Regions from separate parts of the Homo sapiens genome. Here regions 2 and 3 are each linked to region 1. Evidence: promoter capture Hi-C in 16 types of primary human blood cells and fetal thymus (Javierre and others, 2016). All regions are on one chromosome and are shown on one strand. Each heading gives the region's core, a stretch centred on a gene start or on the middle of the fragment in contact. The rest is flanking DNA. Distances are from core to core; before and after follow the strand shown. Region 1 holds the start of BIRC6 (baculoviral IAP repeat containing 6). Region 2 overlaps SPAST (spastin). Region 3 overlaps NLRC4 (NLR family CARD domain containing 4).

The links. Contacts are between HindIII fragments. The CHiCAGO score rates a contact against its expected background, and 5 or more counts as called.
Region 2: a contact is called between a fragment that was not itself captured here and the fragment with the promoter of BIRC6 in region 1, in 1 of 17 cell types (monocytes). The highest score is 6.1, in monocytes.
Region 3: a contact is called between a fragment that was not itself captured here and the fragment with the promoter of BIRC6 in region 1, in 1 of 17 cell types (M2 macrophages). The highest score is 5.0, in M2 macrophages.

The regions. Positions count from the first base shown.
Region 1 is chr2:32,355,185-32,358,611 of GRCh38, forward strand. It overlaps BIRC6 (baculoviral IAP repeat containing 6), which reads left to right and starts at 1,839. Exons shown (of 74, transcript NM_016252.4): 1 at 1,839-2,302. The coding sequence starts at 1,978. RefSeq lists enhancers at 1,510-2,022, 2,537-3,049 and silencers at 1,526-1,895, 2,056-2,285. The HindIII fragment of the contact is 6,861 bases long and covers 1,330-3,427 here.
Region 2 is chr2:32,129,433-32,132,859 of GRCh38, forward strand. The region is part of intron 9 of SPAST (spastin); the gene reads left to right. Among named protein-coding and RNA genes, the nearest start is that of SLC30A6-DT, 35 kb to the right of the region's middle. The HindIII fragment of the contact is 3,991 bases long and covers 1-3,427 here.
Region 3 is chr2:32,224,936-32,228,362 of GRCh38, forward strand. The region is part of intron 8 of NLRC4 (NLR family CARD domain containing 4); the gene reads right to left. Among named protein-coding and RNA genes, the nearest start is that of NLRC4, 38 kb to the right of the region's middle. The HindIII fragment of the contact is 5,652 bases long and covers 1-3,427 here.

The DNA of each region.
Region 1 (3,427 bases), core at 589-3,088:
ATTAACCAGGTTTTGACTGGAATGTCATATTTTCAAACATGACCAGATGGCATTAAGGAGCTATGGTTGACTTTATGGAGCCAATAAAGTCTTCGTTTGAAAAACTGGCCTGATTGTTCCCAGACTTACAGGTGAGTGGCCTGAGTGGCCGGGCGCGGGGGCTCACACCTGTAATCCCAGCACTTTGGGAGGCCGAGGCAGGTGGATCACGAGATCAGGAGTTCAATACCAACCTGGCCAAGATGGTGAAACCCCATCTCTACTAAAAATACAAAAAAAAAAAAAAAAAAAAATTAGCCAGGCGTGGTGGCAGGTGCCTGTAATCCCAGCTATTCAGGAGGCTGAGGCCGAGAATTGCTTGAATCCAAGAGGCAGAAGTTGTAGTGAGCTGAGATCACGCCACTGCACTCCAGCCTGGGCGACGGAGTGAGACTCCGTCTCAATAAACAAACAAAAACAAACAAAAAAGCCAAAAAAAAAAAAAAAAAAGAACCACAGATGAGTAAGGAATGTCACTCTCTGGCAGGCCCAGGAACTTCAGTGTATTTTAGGGACCCCCAAGAAGAGAGGAATACAGTCAAATCTCTAAGTGTTTCAGATGTAGCCTGATGGCTAATAGTTTAAGATGTAGTTCAGGTAATCCATGAAGATTTCCTGAAGGAAGTTCGCATGAATGTGAGAGGGCAATTAACTTTTATAATTTTTATTGAGCACGTAGTATATACTTGTCAGATGCTCTTCTACACATTTTACAAATGATTCTTAATCCTCACAACAGATCTTTGATTAGGTTTTTAAGGAAAACTAGTTCTTTCCAAAATAACCTAATGATCACAAAACATATAGAACATACAACTCTGCATCTTGACTATGGTGCGTAGGTCTACATGTGATAAAATGACATTGAACTATACACACATCATACAACTATCAAATCCCTCCTTTTGAGATTGTACTAGAATTATGTAATATGCAACCATTGGGGGAAACTGGGTAAAGAGTAAATTGGATCTCTCTGTACTATCTTTGAGTAGTGTTTAGGTATTTTATAAAAATAATGTCCTACAGTTTGGGTTTGTCAAATGGTTTTCTCATAGTTAGATAGGGGTTATGGCTTTTGGAGAGAAAGACCACAGAGGTCTGTAGTATATTTTCAACTGTAATCTATTTCAAAATAAAAAGTTTTAAAAAAATTCTCCAAGGGGGGATGATTAGTAAATTGATTAGTCCTTTCTAGACCTCCAACACACCCCACCACACACTCACACAGACCCACACTCCTATTAATTCCGGTAACTCGGGTTGTTTGGAATGTGGATAGAGAAACTAAGCTTAACTATGCGCTTCCAGCACCTCGTATCTGGTACTTCTGTTCAACAGAAAGCCTTGGGAATGGGGAGGGCAGGCGTGGTAAAAGGTACAGGTTTGGGAAGGTCGCTCGGTTCCTTCCAATCCAAACGAGAGGCTTCTGATTGTTTATTCTCACACCAGAGCCGTGACCGAGACCCAGAGGTCCGCTTCCGGCCACGGCCGAACAGCTGCACCGTGCGTACCGGGAACGGTCAAGGCGCAGCTGGAACCGCTGCAAAAGGCCTCCGGGCGTACCGGACAGGTCGCAAGGGCGGGGGTCCCCACCTAGCGGAAATGCACGGAGGCCAACCCCTCCCCCTGCCCCCGCGAGGAGCGGGGCGGACTCGGCAGCCGCCACTCCCCAGGCTCACAGGAAGAAACTGGGACGCTGCGGACGCGGAACTGGCCAGACCCGCGGCGCGTGGCACGCGCGAGCCCTCCCGCGCATGCTCCACCCGCCGGCCTCCAGCCCGCGCCCCGGGCCCCGCCTCCCTCCCTGCTTCTCCCCCTCTCCCGTCAGCCTCCCTCCGAGTTTGGCCCCTCCGGCCGGGCGATCGACGTTCCGCGTGCGTGCGGGCGCCTGACTTCACTTCCGGCTAACGCGCTCGGCTTGCCCCCTGGCCCCGGATGGTGACTGGTGGTGGTGCTGCACCTCCCGGGACTGTCACTGAGCCGCTTCCCAGTGTGATTGTGCTGAGCGCAGGCCGGAAGATGGCGGCTGCGGCTGCGGCGGCCTCGGGCCCCGGCTGCTCCTCGGCGGCGGGGGCGGGGGCGGCCGGGGTCTCAGAGTGGCTGGTGCTGCGGGACGGCTGCATGCACTGCGACGCCGACGGGCTGCACAGCCTGTCCTACCACCCTGCGCTCAACGCCATCCTGGCCGTCACTAGCCGCGGGACCATCAAAGTCATCGACGGCACCTCGGGGGCCACACTGCAGGCCTCCGCGCTCAGTGGTGAGTCTTCCGCACGCCGGGCGGGCGCGAAGCCGGGGAAAGAAGCCGTCCAGCCCCGGGGCTCGGCCTCGCGACTCGGGGAAGCGAGATGGCGAGAGGGCAGGGCTGGGGGTTCGGGCCCAGCCGTGAAGGGAGGCCCGGAAGCTGATGGAGGGGGACCTTAGGACTTGGCTTTTTCAGCGGCTGCAGTTGGGAGGAAAGACCGGCGAGTCAGGGAGTGGTGGGAGGGGAGTTGCCTTTCGGGCCTGGAGCGTCCGGTCTGGCTTGGTCCTCCGCGAGAGGTGAGGAGACCTTGGAGCTTGGCACCGGAGGAAGCGAGGCCCGGGTAGGCCCTGGAGAGGCTGTCGGTCCTGCGTCCGGTTAGATGAGAGCGAAAGGCTGGAAGGGTTGACCCCGGGCGGAGAGGCTGGTGGCCGGAGGCGAGGGGCGGGGAGCGTCTGAGCCGGCAACCAAGCCCTCCCTTGTGGGAGAGGAGCCGGCAGTCTGCTGTTCTCAGGTCCCGCAGTGCGGGGGACAGACCGCGGGCTGTGCGCCCAGCGTGGGGGTGGGGGTGGGGTGGGGGTGGGGTGGGTCGTGGTGGGGGTGGGGAGGGAAGTAGGCGGGCCAGCTGCCTGAACTGCTTGGTCGACGACTGTAGGACTCTGCGGACGCCGAAGACGACTAGACCTGGTCCCCTTGCTCGGGGCTTCCAACTTCTACGCCCCAGTGACGAGAAAGTCAGGACCTGTGGTGTATGAAATAGATTCCTTTGGGTTTGTAACTTCAGGCTGTCTCTACTTGTTTTCCCACAGCGAGCCGAAAATTAGGATTTGAAGGTGTGTCTGAGTCTCACCATTGGAGGAGAGCACTTCTGGGTGGCGTAAACCTTGGTCCAGGGACGGGACTTTCAGATGCGTGAGGTGTATGCTCAGTGGACGGACTGGAGTGGTTTTGGAATGGCCCTGGCTGAGTTAGATTTGGCGGAGATGACATTTCATTTGTGGTTAAATGATGGGTGGCTTAATTTGGATGTTGTAGGTTTAGATTGAAAAGTTAGTGTATGAGTGAATCGGACTCCTGCATAGAGATGTAATGTATACAACTGTCTGCGTTTAGCCAAGTGGAAGTAGTTATGTGGTCAACCAA
Region 2 (3,427 bases), core at 436-2,935, 230 kb before region 1:
TCTTTTTCCATTCACCCTCTGCTGACCCTATAGTATTATTCAAAGAAGTGTTCAGTCTAGTTTTGGGGTAGGGCAAGCATAACTACAGTGCTTAAAGAGAGTAATTTGTCTGGTGTGCAGAACTAGTGTGTAAATATAACTGGTGCATTGCAAAACTGTGAAGTAGTTTCTGTCAAACCTTACACTGCTTTGTCTTTCTCCCTCTCTCCCTTTCTCTTGGTTGCCCCCTCCCCCTCCCAATGATACCTTAGTCTCTGCTTGCCTTTATCAAAACCTTTATGATTGGCCGGGCACAGTGGCCCATGCCTATAATCCTAGCATTTTGGGAGGCTGAGGCAGGAAGATCACCTGAGCCCAGAAGTTGGAGACCAGCCTAGGCAACATGGTGAAACCCCATCTCTTCCAAAAATAAAAAATAGAGCCAGGTGTGGTGGCATGCACCTGTAGTCCCAGCTACTCAGGAAGCTGAGGCGAGAGGATCTCTTGAGCCTGAGAGGTTGAGGCTGCAGTGAACTGTGATCATGCCACTGCACTCCAGCCTGAGTGACAGTGTGAGACCCTGTCTCAAAGAAACAAAACAAGGGGGGGCATGGTGGCTAACTCCTGTAATCCCAGTACTTTGGGAGACTGAGGCAGGAGGATTGCTTGAGGCCAGGAGTTCAATACCACCCTGGGCAACATAGTGAGACCCCCATCTCTACAAAAAATAAAAAATTTAGCTGGACATGCCAGCGAATACGTGGTCCCAGCAAATCAGGAGGCTGAGGTGGGAGGATCACTTGAGTCAAGGAGGTTGAGGTTGCAGTGAGCCACGATCATGCCAATGCATTCCAACCTGGGCGTCAGAGCAAGACCACGTCTCAAAAACAAAACAAAACAAACTTTTATGGTTGAAAGTGTTTTGGCAAACATACTTAAACTGAAATGTGAATCTCTGATGAAAGAACATGTTACCTGTAAAAGTTTGAAGTGTCAGCATTTGTTGCACCGAAATCCAGAGGTGAGGCCAGGTGTGGTGGCTCACGCCTGTAATCCCAGCACTTTGGGAAGCCAAGGCTGGCAGATCACCTGAGGTCAGGAGTTCAAAACCAGCCTGGCCAACATTGCAAAACCCCGTCTCGACTAAAAATACAAAAATTAGCCAGACTTGGTGGTGTGCGCCTGTAATCCCAGCTATTCGGGAGGCTGAGACACGAGAATTGCTCGAACCCAGGAGGCAGAGGTTGCAGTGAGCCGAGATGGCACCACTGCACTCCAGCCTGGGCAACTGAGTGAGACTCTGTCTCAAAAAAAAAAAAAAAAAAAAATCCAGAGGTGAATCCAGAGGTGATCACCACATGATATCCAGATAGCCTCTTTCCATGAGAGGCTCAAAGGATAATTTTACTGTCTACAGTTTTGCAGCGAGAGAAACTTGATTTTATCAGTACACCAAGAGCAGATCTATGTCTTCGGAACAGACATGAGATCAGAATTGTCTAGCTGCTATGAACAGCATGTTCTCTCCCTGTACCTATAGACATGTATGGGAAACTTATTTGTAAGGTTGTATAATGAGCAGTGAGTTAAAGCAAACTTGACATGTTGACCATAGTTGTTATGGCATTGGACTAAAGTAGCCTCCATCACTATGATAGAGATAGCCTTGGTGTTGGACCCATAGTTTTTGAAGTCTGTTTGCTAAGACTCCCTCTTCCTTAGGCAGTTCTTCAAATATTATTATGCTTTTTCCTGTCATGGGATTCCTCTTCATGGAGTTTCCTTTCTCAGGAACACTATCTTCTCCTGGTTAATTTGTACTTATTCTTCAGATACCAGTTGAAATGTTACAACCTTCCCTGACCCTCCAAACTATTCCCCGTTATTATTCTCCTAGCACCACTTGCACCTCATTTTCATACTCACTGGAGTTGCAATTCATATTCATTGATAGGATTATTTTAATTGTATCTGATATCACTGTCACCTCCACTAGAAGATGGTCTCCATGCGGGCAGAGACTATCACCATGTGTTCTTCACTTCAATTTTCAGTAGTTGGCTGTGAGTAGGTATTGAATAAATATTTGTGGAGTAATCATAATGAGGTATAGATATTATTCTCATAGCTCTATTTTATTAATTAGGGAATTACAGAATTCAGTGATCTGCTCAGGATCTCATAACCAGGAAGTGGGAAACTAGGATTTGAGCTCCAGTGAGTGTGGCCTTTCATTAAAAATATTACAGCAACCATTCTCTTTTTTTTTTTTTTTTTTTTTGAGATGGAGTCTTGCTCTGGAGTGCAGTGGCGTGATCTCGGCTCACTGCAGCCTCTGCCTCCCGGGTTCAAGTGATCCCCCTGCCTTAGCCTGCTGAGTAGCTGGGACTACAGGCACCCGCCACGACACTTGGCTAATTTTTGTATTTTAGTAGAGACGGGGTTTCACCATGTTGGCCAGGATGGTCTCGATCTCCTGACCTTGTGATCCGCCCGCATCTACCTCCCAAAGTGCTGGATTATAGGCGTAAGCCACCACACCCGGCCTACAGCAACCATTCTCTTTTATCCATACTTTTTTCAAGAGTACTGTTTCATCTTCATGTTTTCAGAAACAACATAGCATTCATGATCTTAACCCCCAATTCTGATACTGCCTGAATATCTTGAAGTAAGTTTACTTTTAAGAAAGTTGAGGCTAGGTGTGGTGGCTCATGCCTGTAATCCCAGCACTTTGGGAGGCCAAGGCAGGTGGATCACTTGAGCTCAGGAGTTCAAGACCAGGCTGGGCAACATGGCGAAACCCTGTCTCTACCAGAAATACAAAAAATTAGTCGGGCGTGGTGGCGTGTGCCTGTGGTCCCAGCCACTTGGGAGACTGAAGTGGGAGGATTTCTTGAGCTTGGGAGGTGGAGTTTGCTGTGAGCCGAGAGATCATGCCACTGTACTCCAGCCTGGGTGGCAGAGTGAGATCCCATCTCAAAAAAAGAAAAGAAAAAGAAAATTGAAATGTCTAGTCTATCATTTTGTCAGTTCTATCTAATACAATTTTTTCCTTATGTCTAACTGAAATCTGCTTTTTCTAATTTTTACATACTTGATTTAACAAAACTCAATCTTTTTTTTTTTTTATGAGACAGCCTTTCAAATATATAGGAACTTAATGTTATATCTGCTTCCCTCCAGTCCCCAGAATAGTTACTATTTTAGTTGTCTTTCTATGGTCTCATGCCAGTTTGTCAGTATGCCTAGATAAGAACTGAATATTTTACCTCAGATGTGACCTGACTTTGAAGACTTAAAAAGGAAGCATTGTGCCAGGCGCAGTGGCTCACACCTGTGATCCCAGCACTTTGGGAGGCCGAGGTGGGCAGGTCAGGAGTTTGAGACCAGCCTGATTAACATGGAGAAACCCCATGTTTCTCTACTAAATACAAATCTCTACTAA
Region 3 (3,427 bases), core at 581-3,080, 130 kb before region 1:
AGTGATTGTGAATATGGTCTATTATATTTTCCTAGAGTATAAGGGAATCTGATAAATAGTGATTCGTAGTGAGGTAGCAACAATATGTAAATGAATTACTTTTTTTTCCCCTTTTCCTTACTCCTAGGAAATGGAAGGTTGCTTTAATTAAATATTCAGTACTTGTTTTCAAAACTGGAGTCAATCTTTGGCAATATTAAGTCGTTTCCTCTTCTGAAAAAGTAAACACCACCTAACTGTTGTTTCTATGGGTATGTTCCTAACTGTAAACTTGAGTAAGTGAGCCTCCTTCAGTATCTAAAGATTTGGGTGTTTTTGTTTACCTGTTTATGTATAACCCTCCCGAGCCTCTTCAGGAAGTTCCTCCATTCCTTACAGAATAGGGCACCTAAAGTATTTCCTACATAGGGTAGGTGGATATCCTGTCTTTCTGATACACAAAGAATGCACACACACACACATACATACAAAGGATGTGTGTGTGTGTGTGTGTGTGTGTGTGTGTGTGTGTATACATACACAAATAGTTTAGTGTTCATTCTTTATCCCATGTTACCAGTTTAGGTGGTACTGGAACCCAAGTGAGTCTTGCAATAAGAAAAAATACCTTTCTTTCAGGTTATTTACCATCATACAGATTGGCCAGTATACAACATTAGGATTTCACAAAACTAGCTCTGTGTTAATTACACATATTAAATTGTGCAAAGCGTTAGCCCTACCCACCTACCTGGCCCTTTCTGGATGACTAAGTTCACCTTGAAGTACAGAGTGGACAGACAGGCAGACTGGACATGGGAACTCTTACTTACATGTTTATACTCCAGAGTATCACACACAAAATGCAGAAGATGTATGCCTGGTTTATCAATCCACATTACTCGGCTCATCCGAGCTCATCTTAGTCTTAGTGTACCTCACCCAACTTTGGAGGGTTAATTTGTTGTATATTAAACTTGTGTTTCTTGGGAGATGTGTAATATTAGATAATGTTCCAGAAACTGACCCTTATGGAAATGAAGGTCCATGATTCAGTTTGGATTCCAAGTAGGAAAAGAGGTTTTAAAAGTTCCTTTCCATTGTCTCAGTGAGAAGACCACTAAAGAGTTCAAGTTAAAGAAGGAAAGATTCGGTGCTGTACAACCTTAAGGTTAGCAAGCAAAGACTAAAAGGTATCTGCTACCAGTAATGAGGGCTTAATGACAGAAATGGACAGTCTTGTCCGACCAGCTTACGTGGGTGAGGTCAACCTAGTTATGCACTGAAACTATACCCTTACCCACTTTCAGTAAAGGTGTTTACCAGCTCCGTAGTGAGAGGAGATCTGTGAATTTGGTGTCTGATGTCACTGCATGGCCTTGTGTAGTTTGTTCAGTGCAACTAAGTACATTCTAGAGTGTGTCCTTAGTCAATGTCAGCCAATGCTTTTATCACCATCATAAGGTCTTGAGTTTCGAAAGGTCTTCAGGTTCTTCTTTACAGACACCTAAAGTGATTGGCCCTGCCTGACCGTGGTCAAGATGCTAGCGGCTAAAGTGGGCAAAGCCAGGTAAGGAGATGATTCACAGGGTTCTGCCTTCATGTCTCTTACCCATGGTCAGTGTCACTGACACCATCTTTGGGCCTTCTTTGCCACTTTTATTAATTTGAAAAGTGAGACAGAGGCCGGGTGCGGTGGCTCATGCCTATAATCCCAGCACTTTGGGAGGCCAAGGCGGGCAGATCACCTGAGGTCAGGAGTTTGAGACCAGCCTGACCAACATGGAGAAACCCCGTCTCTAGTAAAAATACAGAATTAGCCAGGCGTGGTGGTGCATGCCTGTAATCCCAGCTATTCGGGAGGCTGAGGCAGGAGGATCACTTGAACCCAGGAGGCAGAGGTTGCGGTGAGCAGAGATCACACCATTGCACTCCAGCCTGGGTAACGAGTGAAACTCCATTTCAAAAAAAAAAAGAGAAGAAAAGTGAGACAGACTGCTAGTTGTTCCCAAAACTGTCTCTCCTTATTCCATAGTTAATAGAGTTTTATTTCGGCATATGGCCACTCATATCCCAACCTCCCTTGCTATTAGGTGTGGCTAAATTTTTGCCAAGGAAGTATAGGCAGAAGTGATGTGTGCAACTTCCATGTCACTTTTCCGCTTTTCCCCTCTTCTACTAGGTTGAAATGATCACAGGGCAGTGACCTAGCTATGGCCATAAAGTCAAAAATAACACTCTTAAGGAATAGAGGAGTAAAAAAAAAAAGTAGGGGTCTGGGCCTGAAAGACTGCACAGAGGAAAACCACCCCACCTGCCTGGACTGCTCATTTCTGGACTGTTACATGATAGAGAATCAAGTTCTGCCTTCTGTAAGCCATGGTATAGTTGGGTCTCTGTTATCACAGCGTAGCCTATGCCCAGCCCAAATAGTACCTAGGTCCTTACTTTCCCCTGCCTTCCACCTCCTCTGTTCCTTGGAGGATGGCTTTCTCCCTGCTCTCTCTTCCATCTCATGTTCATGTCCTTTCTGCCTTTGCCCCTTCTCCATATGCTTCCCAGCATGGCATGCACTCAGTCCAAATGCTGGTTGCCAGTTGTGTGTCTATTTAAGGCTCTTTCCCCAAAGATCAACTTTTTTTCTCCTTCTCAGCTAGCAGAACATATTTTCACCACCTAAAAGGAATTTAAGAAGAATTTAAAGCCCATTCCACCCTCACAGGGTGAGCAATTTATAGTGGTTATCTACTAAGGTATAAGGATCTTATCATCAATTTAAGAGAGTTTCTTAGATAATTATTGGAATGTGTGCTAGTGCAGGAACCAAGAACAAACAACATTTGTCATAAGCCAAGGGCATGCCTTTTGTTCATTTAATCTGCAGTGCTTATGTTATGAGGAGCAGACTAGATCCAAGAGAAACAGAATCCATGACATTTAGAGCCATAGGCTGTATGTGGGCTGTGGAGAGTGCAAATGGCTTGATTGGAATTCCAGGAAAAATCTCAGATGCCCTGGGTAGAAGGGTTCTGATTCTTGGGGGTTCCTGTATCCCAAACACAACTCTTCATTTGTGTTGTCCTGTAGTTCACCTGAACGAGTACCAGAGTTCTCACTGTTTATTCATTCAGCAACATCTTTAGTGCTACTATGTGCTGCGGATTATGCTGGGTGCTGGGGATATGTGTAAACGACAGACATGGTCCCTGTCTAAATGGGCTTACAAAATAGTGTGAAGACATGCATTATAAAGTAATTAGATGGGTGGTGGGTGCTATGGTAGGTCAGGGTACCCTGGGAGCACACAAAAGCAATAGGCTTTCCCACTCCACTTTGTTCCCAGAACACTTGCAATTGGGCTTATATGCTCCAGGAGGAAGACTGGAGGATTCTTAGGAGAAATGGAACTGCCCCCCGGGAAAAGGCCCTACAAAGAAGGGGCCATTTT